Regions from separate parts of the Homo sapiens genome. Here region 1 is linked to region 2. The links are contacts of gene promoters, found by promoter capture Hi-C in blood cells and fetal thymus (Javierre and others, 2016). All regions are on one chromosome and are shown on one strand. The core of a region is centred on a gene start or on the middle of the fragment in contact, and the rest is flanking DNA. Distances in the headings are between cores, read along the strand shown. Region 1 overlaps TNFSF13B (TNF superfamily member 13b). Region 2 holds the start of ING1 (inhibitor of growth family member 1).

Region 1 (7,333 bases), core at 4,492-6,991, 2.4 Mb after region 2:
AACATTCACAGTCTCATGCGTGTCACCCACCCAAACCCAGTTGTACTTAAACACATCTCAGAATGAGAGGTCATCTTCCATGCTTCCATGACTGTATGTCTGCTGTTCCCTCCTACTAAATATACTTTACCTTCTATCCAGTGGAACTCCATTCATCCTTCAGTACTGAAATCAAATACAAACTTTTTCTACAATACTTCTAGCAAAATATTTGATCCCACTATACTTTGCATATCATCTATTGAAATACATGTTACTATACACGCAATTGTTTCTGTAACTGTTTCTCTCCCTAGATTGTGAATCACTTGATATTAAGGACAACCATTCACAAATTTTCAGTGTCTGATTTACAGCAGACTTAAAAAAAAATCCGTGGAATAATATATGAAACAATTTACATAAAAAATAGCACTCAACTTTTCCAAACAATTCTTAAAAACCAGTCACTAAATCCAGCTTTATGAAATGTGTTAAATCAAGTCATTGCTTGAGGGAAAAGGGGTTCCATAAAACAAAACAATTTCCATGAATTGTGGACTCTCTCATAATAGGCTTTGAACCCTCAGTTATATAGGAAACATTTTCCTCAAGAGAAAACCTTAATAATACATTTTTGAATCTCTATCCACAGAAGTGTAGCACTCTATAATATTTTTAAAGTAAGTAGTTGTGCACCATTTTCCTAAAATGTCTTATTTTGTAATTTCCAGAGGCTCCAGTGGGGCAGATAGAAGAGAAAAAGGCCTGAAAGTGAGACTTCATAGCTGCTGTCAGGAGCTGTCACAGCGCAGTTATTCCCTTTTCTCTTACCCTTCCCTGTCTCAAATAACCTGATCAGAAGGAGGAGGAGGAGGAAGAGAAGGGGAGGAGGAGGAAGAGGAGGAGGAAAGGAGGAGAGGAGGAGAGGAGGAGGAGAAAGAGAAGTGGAGGAGGAGGAAAGGGAGGAGGAGGAAGAGAAGGGGAGGAGGAGGAAGAGAAGGGGAGGAGGAGGAGAGGAGGGGGTAGGAAGAAAGCTTGCATTTGCAAAAACACTTCAACAGATCAGCACTTGCAAAAATTTACAAATTTAGAAGAGGAAAGGGATAATATAAAGATGTTTGTATGGGATAAGCCTCTATGCCTACTAAAACAAGGCCTTTTCTTGAATTATTTCTGTTTCCTATTTCTACCTTGTCCTCATAACCTCAGTTATTCTGTCCTCTTACCCAAGTCTGCTCCATCTTCAAACCCACTTCAGCTCTCTTGACCACTGTCTAGATAATCTCGCAGTCTGTGATCTCTACCACTAACAACATTCTCTGATTCCTTAACTTGATGTCTCTCTCACTGGCATTAATCGTAATACCCTGGGCCTTGTCAGACCCAATATTTTTTCTCAAATCTGGTGGCACACTTGAAAATTAAGCATGTACAGCCATTATCATTGAAAAAAATCAGAATTTATAATCAATAGATAATGAATTCAAACCTTACCTCTCCTATCAATTAGTTGTCAAACCATGAGTTTGACACTTAATTTTGAAGCATTTTAAATCTGTATAATGATGTCAGAGGCAGGTGAACCAGAGAACCTCCATCTTGGATAGGAGCTGGGTAAAATAACTGAGACCTACTGGGCTGTATTCCCAGATGGTTAAGGCATTCTAAGTCACAGGATGGGATAGGAGATCAGCACAAAATACAGGTCACAAAGGCGTTGCTGACAAAACAGACTGCAGTAAAGAAGCCAGCCAAAACCCACCAAAACCAAGATGGCGAGGAGTGACCTCTGGTGGTTCTCACTGCTACACTCCCGCCAGCGTCATGATGCCATGGCAATGTCAGGAAGTTACACTATATGGTCTAAAAAGGGGAGGCATGAATAATCCACCCCTTGTTTAGCATATCATCAAGAAATAGCCATAAAAATGGGCAACTAGCAGCCCTGAGGGCTGCTCTGTCTATGGTTTCGGCATTCTTTTACTCCTTTACTTTCCTAATAAACTTGCTTTCACTTTACCCTGTGGATTCGCCCCGAATTTTTTCTGGCGTCAGATCCAAGAACCCTCTCCGGGGGTCTGGATCGGGACTCCTTTCCTGTAACATTTCTCTGGCGACCACAGAAGGGAATATAGTACAGAAACCCCCGACCCAAAGGTTAACTTTGGGTGAGTGTTGGGTCCTGTAACAATGGGAATAGCAATATCCATTTCATACTGCTGCGAAAATAGATTGAAGTCATCATTTAGATGTGTTTTATGAATTGTAAATAACTTGTCTATTTTATTGTTCTTTTAAATTTTGCATCAATTTGGCTTAACTTCTCCAACTATTAAATAATTAGCTTGCTGAGAGAGGCAATTGATTCTCTGGGTTGCAGCTTTCTCATCTAAAATGAAAACAATAATGCCCAACTAACAGAGTTGTTGAGAAAGTAAATGATATACATTCCCAGAGCCCAACACAGTGTTTGCACATGAAACACGCCTGATAATTGTTAGCTTCGCTGTCCTCTTCTCTGTATATTATGGAGTGCCTACCTCAGATATTTGCAGAAACAGTGGGTGATAAATCTATTTGAAGAGAAACCTTCTGTTTCTCTAACTCTTCAGAAATGGGAATGTCTTTTAAAAAAAAAATATCACCACAACAAAAATGCAGCTGCTCAATGCAGTTCTTTTAAGTAGGAGTTGATCTATAAAAAGAATAAGCATTAAAACTAACATTTTCCATTCATATGGAATTACTAATAAAAACAACACAGGTATAAACATTTTGAATTTATTTTAAAAATCACCTACCCATGTCTGCAATGTTAAAAAAAATAGTCAAAAGTATAAAGAATTATTGAGCTTTCAAGAAAAGATAAAAAGGCTTAATGAACCTGGCCTCTCCATTCAAAATGAAAACGCATTTCTTTCCCTTCCTCACCCTTCACATTCCTGATACTCATTCACCTGCCCTAACCTTTTCACTTTTTCAACATATTTACCATTTTTTTGTATTTTAATTTGCTAATTAACTATATGTACTATCATTTTTCTGTTTCTCTTCAACTCACGATAATGTAAGATTGTGTAAAAGAGACACAATATCACATTTGGCTGTGTTGACTGATTTGTTTCCTAGCTCTTCCGTTTCCCAAAATCTCAAGCTTAACAAGAACAGGTCAAAGATTTGGTTGGAAGGTCAACGTTTTCAATTTTAAATGCTTTTCCAGAAGTTGAACAGAAGCCAGTTCTTGCAACACTGAAGAAAAGTCTCACTATTGAAGCAGGGGGAAAGAAAAAATAACTCTCAGGGAAAGCTCTGGTCAAAGATCGCCTAAGCAGCAGCCAGCTGGTTCTGTTCCACGAAGGAACACACCCTTGCTGGGTAAGAGGCTCAAGTCAGCCTAATTTTGATAAGGGCTGGATGGTCAAGTTCTACATTGCACGCTTCCAACACTCATGTTACAGCCTGGAACTCACAGCTAAGCCAGAAATGCCAACCGGGCAAAGACTGGACATTACAGACTTGTCAAACATCTCATCTTTCCTTGCAAAGGAGTTGGACTTTGGATTTCAAAAAAGAAGACTCAAAAATAGTATTGATATCTTCACTTTTAGCAATTAGAAAGGTTTATCCGATAGAAAACTTAAGGTATAATATTTGGTGTTTATATATGCTACATTCAAAATTTTAATTTAAAAAATGTTAAATACAATGTGATATCCTGATGGATCCTAAAACATAAAATCATTAGTAGAAAAACTCGTGAAATTCAAATTAAGTCTAGAATTTAGCTAATAGTTAAGTCTTAATGTTGGTTTCCTTTTTGTAATGAAATACCATGTTCATATAAGATGTTAGTATTAGGGAAGCTGGATAGGGGTACATGCCAACACACTGTATTCTTTGCAAGCTGTGTGTAATTCTTAAACAATCCCAAGCTCACTTAAAAATGAAGAAAAATATACCTTAAAGTAGATTGACCAAAAATCTCATGATAATTATTTGGAAGGTGAAATACGGACAATTTTTTCTATTCTTGCTTTACATTACTTTGAATTGTCCATATTTTTACTATTATTTTATTATTAAAATTGAGACAATTATAATAAACATTATCAATAAAAATAATTTTGTCTTTCTGTATCCTAAAACACATAAATTTCTAATAGTTATTAATTAACAGGAAAGAAAATACAATGGTTACCTAATTTTAACAATGAACCTTTTTAGGTCAGTGATACCCATTTGAAAGAATTCACTTTCTTGATAGACTCTAAAGACATTCATCTTTAGGTTCTTAAAATTAATAAAATTATAGTTAAGTGATGTTCAAAATGTGGATCTTCATGATTCCATTTGTAAATAAATTTTATTACGTAATATTTTCAAAGCCATATTGTTTTAGTTAATTTTTAAATTGGGAATATCTCCAAACACAGTTACGGGCTTAAAAGTGAATTTTTGGCTAATATGAGCTATTTGGCAATTTTTTAATCCTGGATTTCCCCACATTTCTGTTTATTATACTACAATCAAAAATGATATTATGAAATACATTAAGCTTAATGAGATTTTGGTTTGAAACACAAAGTAATTAAGAAAAACAAAACTAAAGCCAAAGTACTAAATTCTAAAATTAAAACATTAAGTAAAACCACTGTTTACCCATGGGATGCCTGGAAGAGAGTATCATTGGGACATGTTGGCTGATGGTAATTCCCCTCCCTTCTTCTACAGTTTGTGTGAAGTTCCAATAAAAATACTTGGTTCTAAAACATGTAGACAATTAATAAATATGAACATAAATAAACACTTTAAAAGTAAAAAGGACAACTTAAGGTTTTGAGTCTTACTGAAAATAAATCAGAACTTGAATGAAAACAAAAATCAAAGAAAGCTGCATAGAATTTTCTCAATGCCAAAAAATTCCTACTAAAAAACGTCCTTGTGTTACAGACAACTTTTTTGGGAATATAAACATTAATTTTGGAGTATGCTAAATAAAATAAACTTTCCCTCCACCAAAGAATAGTATCTAGAACAACATTCAAATGAATTTCCTAATTTTATTAACAAGGAATAGTAGACATGATGTCATTAAGATTCTTATCTTCAAATCTTCCACCTTGGATTTGTGAAAGTTATGAGTGTGTATACTATGTCCTATTTGAATATATACACATAACACATATGCACACTATGTATGTATATATATGTATATATATATATATTTGTATGTGTATATATTTGTACATATATTTGTATAAATATATGTATTTGTTCATATATGTATTGTTCATATGTATTGTTCATATGTATATGAACAAATACAGTTGATCCTTGAACAACACAGGAATTAGGGTCACTGACCCCATGCAGTCAAAACTTTGTGCTTAACTTTTGACTCCCAAATCTTAATTACTAACAGCCCACTGTTGACCAGAAGCCTTTCTGATAACAAAAACTCAATCAATACGCATTTCATAAATTATATGTATTATGTAGTGTATTCTTACAATAAAATAAGCTAGAGAAAAGAAAATGTTATTTTAAAAAATCATAAGGAAGAGAAAATGCATTTACTATTCATTAAGTGGAAGTGGATCATTATAGAGTTCTTCATTCTTCACATTGAGTAAGCTAAGGGGGAGGAGGGAAAGGAGGCGTTGGTCTTGCTATCTCAAGGGTGGAAAGTGGAAGAAAATCCACATACAAGGGGACCCTCGCGGTTCAAACCTGTGTTGTTCAAGGGTCAACTATAATGTCATGACTCTTCTTTGCTTCCTGGGAGCATTTCCAGCATCACTATCGCATTTTCTATAGGTCTCATGGTGTTATTCAAGGTTTATGATATTGCATTACACAAGAAGAAAAATACACACAAATCATGAGAAATCATTTTTACTGCAATATCCAACTGATTGGAGATACAACTGGCTCATGCAGAGATGATTAGCATCACATGGTGTTTTAAGCAGATACTCACAGCACTTGAGCTCACTGCAGTAGCAACAGGAGGTGGCTATGAAATTATTACAGTAGTACAGTATGTACCACAGTTAATTTTATGCAGTGATGACTTAATACTGCATGTTTATGTTTGTTTCCATTTCTCTAGACTACAAAGGGCGCTATGTACAGTCTGTTTGTATGCATATGTTTTGAGAATTTTTAACTTTTGTGTATATTTTATGATAGTAATAAGAAAATAGACCAGTATCTACATATATTTTATACATTCATGACATGGCTAATTAATCTTAATATTTTCAACATTTCAAAGATACACAGTTCTTCCATGAGTTTTTTCAAATTATCACAAATCTACAGATAATTTTCCAATAGGTTTATTGAAAAAAAAAATCCACCTGTAAGTGTATCCATGCTGTTAAAACTTGTGTTGTTCAAGGCTCAACTGTGTGCAATATATACCTATATGCACACTGTATTAAGGTTTATTAAAAAGTCTAGGGCAAACCATGAAATAATAATAGTAGCTACTTCTGGGCTGTGGAAATCTGGGCAAATTTTTTTTCACTTTGTTAGAATCTACAAATTGCAAATTATTTGGTGAAAGATTCTCATCAGTATACTATTCCTGGATGCCATTAAAACACAAATACATAAAAGTATTAATAGGAGAATTTTGGGAAAATGTGACCCAAGAAGTTATTTCTTTCCTACTCTATTATTCTTTTCTTCTTAAATCTGCTGAAATGAGTCTACATCTTTTTTTTTAATTGTAAAGTTAAAGTTTATTTTTAAAACTAATATTTAGAAACGGGGATATTAGCAGTGAAGGTTAAGGAGATTGAAGGATCCTGACCCTACTAGTTATTGAAGCCTCTTATAATACAAATTACCTTAAAAATATTCTTTAAAGCATATAAATAGAATAATCAATTAAAAAAAAGAGTCTCAAATAGATTCAACTCTTATGAGGAACTTAATAAAACACAGTAAGCTTTTCAACACCAAGGAGTTAAAAAGAACTATTTAATACATTTGGTTGAGATACCAGTTAGAAAGGAAAAAAGAGAGAGGGGGAAGTTAAAGCCAATGTGAGATGATTCATCAAAATAAACAACAGAAGGACTAATGAGTTAAAACAAAACACTCAACTATGAAAAAGTCAAAGTGGCAGGGAGTCAACTACTTAAGAAAACATGAACAAATGTATTTTTAGCTTTAATATTAGGGAAAATTTTTTAAAGATTATCACTTTACTATAGAGAAATGCAAAATGTTCAAGTAAAAAAAGAAGCAAAACTGTTAAAATATTTACATCAAAATTTTGATCAATTATCAATATGTCTAATTAGGAAGAGCTTATCCAAAATTATAAAAACATGGGACA
Region 2 (6,812 bases), core at 1-2,500:
AGAGAAAAGCCCTCGTCCTCCGCAAACTACAACCGGCGGCGTCGCCCCTCGCAGTCGGCCCCTACTCGGTGTCCAGCTCCAAGTGAGGGCCGGAGGGGGCTGGGCGGGGGCGGCCGACCTACCCCGAGCGGAGTACTACCCGGTACTTTATGTAACACTCAGATTCGGGACTGAGTGGGGGGCGACGAAGAAGGGCCAGAGGAACGGCGTTGCCCGGGACCGAGGCACCGGGTCCGCGGGAACCCCGGCCCACAGCCGCCCTCCTCCTGCAGCCCCGTCTCGGCGCCCTATAGCCCCAGGCGCCGGCACATCCCTCCATCTCGCGCCGTAATCTGCACCCCCTCCTAGAGGACGCGGCTTGGACCCGCCGCCCCCTCCCCCGCAGCACCCGCCTCATCACTTCACTACAAAGAGCGCTTTGGTCGCGCAGCCTTGCAGCGAGACCTCTCGCGCCTCCTTCCTCCTCCGTGTCCCGGGCTTTGCACACAAGGACCTTGGCGAATCAAAGGCGCTCCAGACCTTTTGTTCCTGCCCCTGCCGAGGGCCGCCGCTGCGGAGCCGGCCGCTTCCTCCGGTCCACGGCAGGACCGGCCCGGCTCCGCGGCGCGCCCGGACCCGCCGGGAAGGAGGCGGCCGCCCCCGCCCATCCATCACCCGGCCGTACCTTGGTATTTCGCGTCGATCTCCCGCATCAGCGAGACATTTCTCTGCAAGTCGAAAGGCAGGGACTCGATGGAGTCCAGGTAGTCCTCCACATAGTTCACCAGGTGGAGCTGCTCCCCGTTGGCAGGACTCAACATGGTTCACCCCGGAGGTCCCCGGCGACTCGGCGCGGCTTTCCGCTTCCTCCACCCCCCGCCCCCCTCAAAAAATAGCACTGCAAAATGCAAAGCCCTCGCTCTCCCGGCGCCCCCCCGCCGGCTCCTGCTTCGGCCCGGCGGCTACATCTGCCGAGCCCGTCCGCCGCCTCCGGGTCCGCGGGGACCCCAGCGCCTGAGGGCGCGGGCCGCGGTGGCGGTGGCTCCCGGGCGCACGCCCCGGCCGGCGGCGCAGGCCCCCTCTCAGGCGGCGGGGCTGGCGCCGGGGGCCGCGCGTACGAGCGCGCACACACCGGCGGGAGAGGGCCCAGCGCCGCGGCCGCCGCTGCCCACTCGCCCACTGGGCTGGGTAGAAGAGAGGAGCGGAGCGGGCAGCGGGAAGGGGCGCGCTCCGCTGGCCGCCGAGCCGCACTTGTCCAACGTGGAAAACCCAAATACCAGTTTCAAACACTTGGGAAACATTCAGCCCCGCTGCGCAGCGCGCATGCGCCCCGGCCCCCTCCCCCGGCAACGGCCCCGCCCCCCGCCGCATTCACGCCCCTCACCGTCCCAGGCCCTGGGGGCTGCGGGCTCCAGGCCGGCCCTCGCGGGGGCGTGGCCTTGCCTGTCACTTTTTCCAGAGGCGAGGGTCGCGGAGGGGACAGCGTCAGGGCCGCTGGGGTGTGGACGGCGGGCGAGGCGCAAACTTTACTAGGAGTTTTTGGCACTTGGAGGCAGAGCCTGTTGGGCGGCACAGCACGCCCGCTGGGAAACGCAGGGGAGCGGCCTGCTTCGCTGAAAACCCGACCAGGACCTAACGGGCCGCGGGACAGAAACCTCCGAGACCATGGTACACAGCAACTACCGCAACTCGCTCCTCAGCCCCTGACTCTTCGTCCCCGCCCCACAGAGCAGTATAAGTAGGGCCCGAAACAGAACTGGCAACCGCAGTAGCCAATCTACTTGCCAACATCACTTTGACAGCCCAATCACGATGAAGAGGAGGCGGGGAGACCGTGAGTAATGCCCCCCGGACTCTTACTACTAGAAACCCAAGTCCTCCGGGAGGCGGAAGGAAGGGGAGGGCCGGGCACGGGCGGAAGTGGCGGCGCATGCGCACTGGCACCCTCTCGGTGTCCTTTGAGCTGCGGCCGCAGAGTGCGCGGGAGACCTACCCATTCCGCGGCCGGACCACCACTCCCAGCAGCCTAGGCGGCTCCCGCGCCTGCGCCATCCGTCACCGCCCTCCCTTTGTGTCGTCTCCCGGTACTCAGTTTGGAACGGCTTGGAGACAAAGGGGCCTGAGAGGGAAGCTGCTTCCTAGTGCCGAGCCCCAGAAGAGGTGGATAGGCCCGAGGGGCGCCTTCCCTAGGCCTTATCTCTTCCCGCCCTGTGTCATGGACACCGTTCTCGGAGGCCGCTCCCCACACTTGGAAAGGCCGCCCACAGTATGCAGACACCCGGTCGGCCGGCGTCCTGAGGCCATTCAGCTCCCCGGACCGCCCTCCCCCGCGTCGCCCCTCTACCCTCCCAAAGCTCCCGGATTTTGGGCTTTCTGAGAAGCCTGGACGCCACGCGAGCCCGTTGCCTAGGCGACCGGCCCCGCGCGCCGGCCCCCCCCCTTCCGGCCAAAGGGCCCGCCCCTCCTGGGCGTGGCCTCGTGCCTTTGTGCACTTCCCGCCTGGCTCTCTGGTTCCGGGGCGGCCTCGGCTTCGGCCTCCGCCCCGCTGCGGCCGCCGCGGGTCCCCTCCGGGGTGGCCCCGAGAGCTGTGTTCGCCACGCTTGGCTGCCTGCTTTTCTCTGATTTTCTTCCGCCTTGGACCCTGCTCTATTTGCATTGTCTTTTTTTCAGCAAGTCGGAGAACGGTGCCTTGTCAGTTTTCACCTTTCTCACTGGACTTTCTCTTTTCCGGAGAGCCGGGTTGGTGGTGCTGCCTGTGTATTCCACGAACTAAGCCCTGTCCCCAGCCCTTGCAGTGTTTCTGTATCAACTCCACGCCAGCGCGGTTCTCCATTTTTCTTAGCCTCTTAATTAGGACAGGGTCGGATTTCAGCTTTTATCCACCGGGTTTATCCTGTTGCAAAGCAGAGTACACAGTTTTAGACACAAAATAATTGCAGTTGAAATGGATACACATTCTGGTGGTAAGATTTGGAAACGTGGTATTTGATGGAACCCTGTTGTAACATCTAAAACTCTTTGGATTTTTTAAAAACGTATTCTGTGTAATCCAGTAAAAATTTGGATTCGTCCAGTATTTATAGAGTAGATTATTAACCGCAGTGGTGCTCATTCCAGGGCCCTGCCGGGTATTTTGTGCTATGGATGTGAGTACGGCAAAGAGACTGAATTAAGCTGTTTTGTATTTGGAATCGGATTGTTCACGTTGCAACGTTGCTGCAATGATAAATGGATGGATACTCTTTACACTTTGAAGTGGATTTAATCTTCACTTTTAAGCCCCTTCATCTCACCTACACAGCAGGAGAGCTTTGGCTTTGATATTTGGGGAAATGGCTGTTATTTTACTTACAGATCACGCTATTCTAGTCTTGGCCTAGTTAAAAGCAAATGAGTACTTTAGTTTCTACAAGATTTATTGGCCACTACTTGGTCTGCACAAAAGACTATAACACTTGGCCGGACGCGGTGGCTCACGCCTGTAATCCTACCACTTTGGGAGGCCGAGGCGGGCGAATTGCCTGAGATCAGGAGTTCGGGACCAGCTTGGGCAACATGGTGAAACCCTGTCTCTACTAAAAATACAAAAAATTAGCAGGGCATGGTGGCGCGTGCCTGTAGTCCCAGCTATTGGGGAGGCTGAGACAGAATCACTTGAACCTAGGAGGGGAGGTTGCAGTGAGCCGAGATTGTGCCACTGCACTCCAGCCTGGGCGACAGAGCAAGACTATCTCCGGAAAAAAAGAGAAAAAAAGACTACGACAAGATAACATTATGTGGAAACAAACATTATGTCGAATACAGAGTATAGAGGGAGTACAAAGTTGAATAAGGAAAATTACGCCTTTCCCTCAAAAAGCATATAAGTAATTTAAAAGTACAATAGTAAGAAATAGACCGGTTCTTCTATTCCTAGCATTCATTGGCTCTAGAATGAATAGTGTTTATCTGAACTCAAGAATAAAATTGGAAGTAATTTACCCTTTACAAAGATAAGATGGAGTTTAACCTAGGTTTTCTTTTTAAAAAAAAAAATCACAACACAGTACAATCTGAGTAATGATTTTGTTCCTCTAGTTATGTACTCTCTTCACATACACATAAACCAAAAAGGCATCTTAAGCATTCAACAAGGAATATTGACGAGTGTCTACCATGTGCCAACTACTGGTCCGTGCGCTGGGGATACAGTAGTGAAAAGTTTTTTGGAGCTTTACATTCCATAAAACTTTTAGCCCACCCCTTGGGATAAAAAGTCAAAAAAGATTTTATCTTTTTTGGAACAAACTTAGAAGATCAAGCAATAAAACATAATTACCTTTGATAACGAATTTTAAATGTCATTGAAGAAAGGTGCTTAATTTTGAAGATACGTTGAAGAATCTTGTCTCTTTCAGTTTTGTTTCCTGTGGCGTGTTGCAAAAATGGATGTTAAAACTTTTCCGTAGAACAGAAATTTCAAATGGATTAAAAAGAAACATTTAAAATTAAACTTTTTTCTAAAATTATATTTCCAGTCTAACTGAAAATGCTCAAACCTATGAGAGTCAGATATAAGAGATGAACATATAATTCTTTTTCTTTTTTTGAGACGGAGTCTTGCTCTTGTCACCCAGACTGGAGTGCAGTGGCGTGATCTCAGCTCACTGCAACCTCCGCCTCCCGGGTTCAAGCGATTCTCCTGCCTCAGCCTCCTGAGTAGCTGGGATTACGGGTGCCGGACGCCATGCCCAACTAATTTTTGTATTTTTAGTAGAGACGGAGTTTTGTCATGTTGGCCCAGGCTGGTCTCGAACTCCTGACCTCAGGTGATCCGCCTGTCTTGGCCTCCCAAAGTGCTGGGATTACAGGCGTGAACCACCGCGCCTGGCCAAGCATAGAATTGTTTAAGTTTCAAAGTGCTTAAAAAATAAATGCAAACTCATTCATCTTAAACTTGAAAACCCCTAAACCATATGCTACCGTAATCAACTCTACTTCTGATTTACAAGATTTTGCCTTGAAAGAAAATGTAATACTGAGAACTTGATTTTGTTATTGTTGTCATTAAGGACTGAGAAATGGCATTAGTGATATTTTGGAATCATTAACTTTAACACACTTCCTCGTTCTGACCTAGATTGGAGAGGGAGGTGACTTCAATTAAATGGATCCTCTTTTTATGTATATATGGTGTATTAGTCAGGGTTCTCTAGAGGGACAGAACTAATAGGATGGAGATATAGATATATATAATGTATATACATATATATGTTTATTAAGTACTAACTTACATAATCACAAGGTCCCACAATAGACTGTCCGCAAGCTGAGGAGCAAGGAGAGCCAGTCTGAGTCCCAAAACTGAAGAACTTGGAGTCTGATGTTCGAGGGCAGGAAGCACCCAGCACAGGAGAAAGATGTAGGCTGGGAGGTATAGTAATGAAGAGCATTAGCAGTCTATTTTACTTTACCTTAATATTCAACCTGCAGATATTCAATATGCAAAAAGATCACATTTCTAACCATCATTAGGTAATGAGCTATGTTTCTCCTTGTTTTGATGATCCGCAAAAGCCTTAAGAAAACAGAATTAGCTGCCGGGCACGGTGGCTCATGCCTGTAATCCCAGCACTTTCAGAGACCGAGGTGGGCGGATCACCTGGGGTCGGGAGTTCAAGACCAGCCTGACTAACATGGAGAAACCCCATCTGTACTAAAAATACAAAATTAGCTGGGCATGGTGGCACATGCCTGTAATCCCAGCTACTCAGGAGACAAGCAGGAGAATTGCTTGAACCCGGGAGACGTGAGAAAGAGGCAGGAGAATCGCTTGAACCCAGGAGATCACGCCATTGCACTCCAGCCTGGGCAACAAGAGTGAAACTCCATCTCAAAAAAAAAAAAAAGAAAAAAGAGAAAAGAGAATTGGCCAGGTGTGGTGGCTTAGGCCGGTATTCCCACCGCTTTGGGAGGCTGAGGTGGCTGGATCACTTGAGGTCAGGAGTTCCAGAGTCCCAGACCAGCCTGGCCAACATGATGAAACCCCATCTCTACTAAAAATACAAAAATTAGCTGAGCGTGGTGGCACGCACCTGTAATCCCAGCTACTCGGGAGGCTGAGGCAGAAGAATCACTTGAATCTGGGAGGTGGAGGTTGCAGTGAGCCGAGATCGTGCCACTGCACTCCAGCCTGGGTGATAGAGTGAGACTCTGTCTCAAAAATAAATACATAAAAATAAAAATAAAAATGCAAAAATTAGCTGGGCACGGTGGTGTGCACTTGTAATCTCAGCTACTGTGGAGGCTGAAGCAGGAGGATTGCTTGAACCAGGAGGCAGAGGCTGCAGTGAACCCAGATCAGGCCACTGCACTCCAGCCTGGGTGACAGAGCAAGACTGCCTCAAAAAAAAAAAAGAAAACATAATAGAATCACTGCCAGTGAGGGGCTAAAAACATTACATGAATTTTCTGAAGACAGAAGATACTATTGTTAATTTAAAAGTTGTGATGTTCTATGAACAATTCAAATATACCGCATGTCCAGATTCATGTGCAGATTTGATCTTCAGTGTTACTAAGCTGCTTTCAGAATCTCTGCTCCAGTTATTTCCTTGAATTCGTGTGTTCTCACAGATTGCAACTGAGCTTTTTGTTAATTTGCTTTATTTACTGGCACATCTAATATCTGAATCAGCTTTATCAGGTATTTTACTACCCAGATTTCTTCCCACCTGCACAATTAATCCCTTTCGTAAGGGATTAATTCATCAACATTCAACAAGCCCTTTTATTTCTTCTAAATTTTTTTTTTCCAGCCACAGCAAAACAAAACAAACAAAACCCAAGTCCTT

Evidence for each region. Contacts are between HindIII fragments. The CHiCAGO score rates a contact against its expected background, and 5 or more counts as called.
Region 1: a contact is called between a fragment that was not itself captured here and the fragment with the promoter of ING1 in region 2, in 1 of 17 cell types (neutrophils). The highest score is 7.1, in neutrophils.

What each region holds. Positions count from the first base shown.
Region 1 is chr13:108,272,241-108,279,573 of GRCh38, reverse strand. The region is part of intron 2 of TNFSF13B (TNF superfamily member 13b); the gene reads right to left. Among named protein-coding and RNA genes, the nearest start is that of TNFSF13B, 6.2 kb to the right of the region's middle. The HindIII fragment of the contact is 2,403 bases long and covers 4,540-6,942 here.
Region 2 is chr13:110,708,138-110,714,949 of GRCh38, reverse strand. It overlaps ING1 (inhibitor of growth family member 1), which reads right to left and starts at 1,250. Exons shown (of 2, transcript NM_198219.3): 1 at 665-1,250. The coding sequence starts at 800. It also overlaps a transcript of CARS2 not described here. RefSeq lists silencers at 1-23, 64-323, 414-703, 864-1,053, 1,064-1,413 and 2 more and enhancers at 2,084-2,133, 2,734-2,823. The HindIII fragment of the contact is 10,550 bases long and covers 1-6,812 here.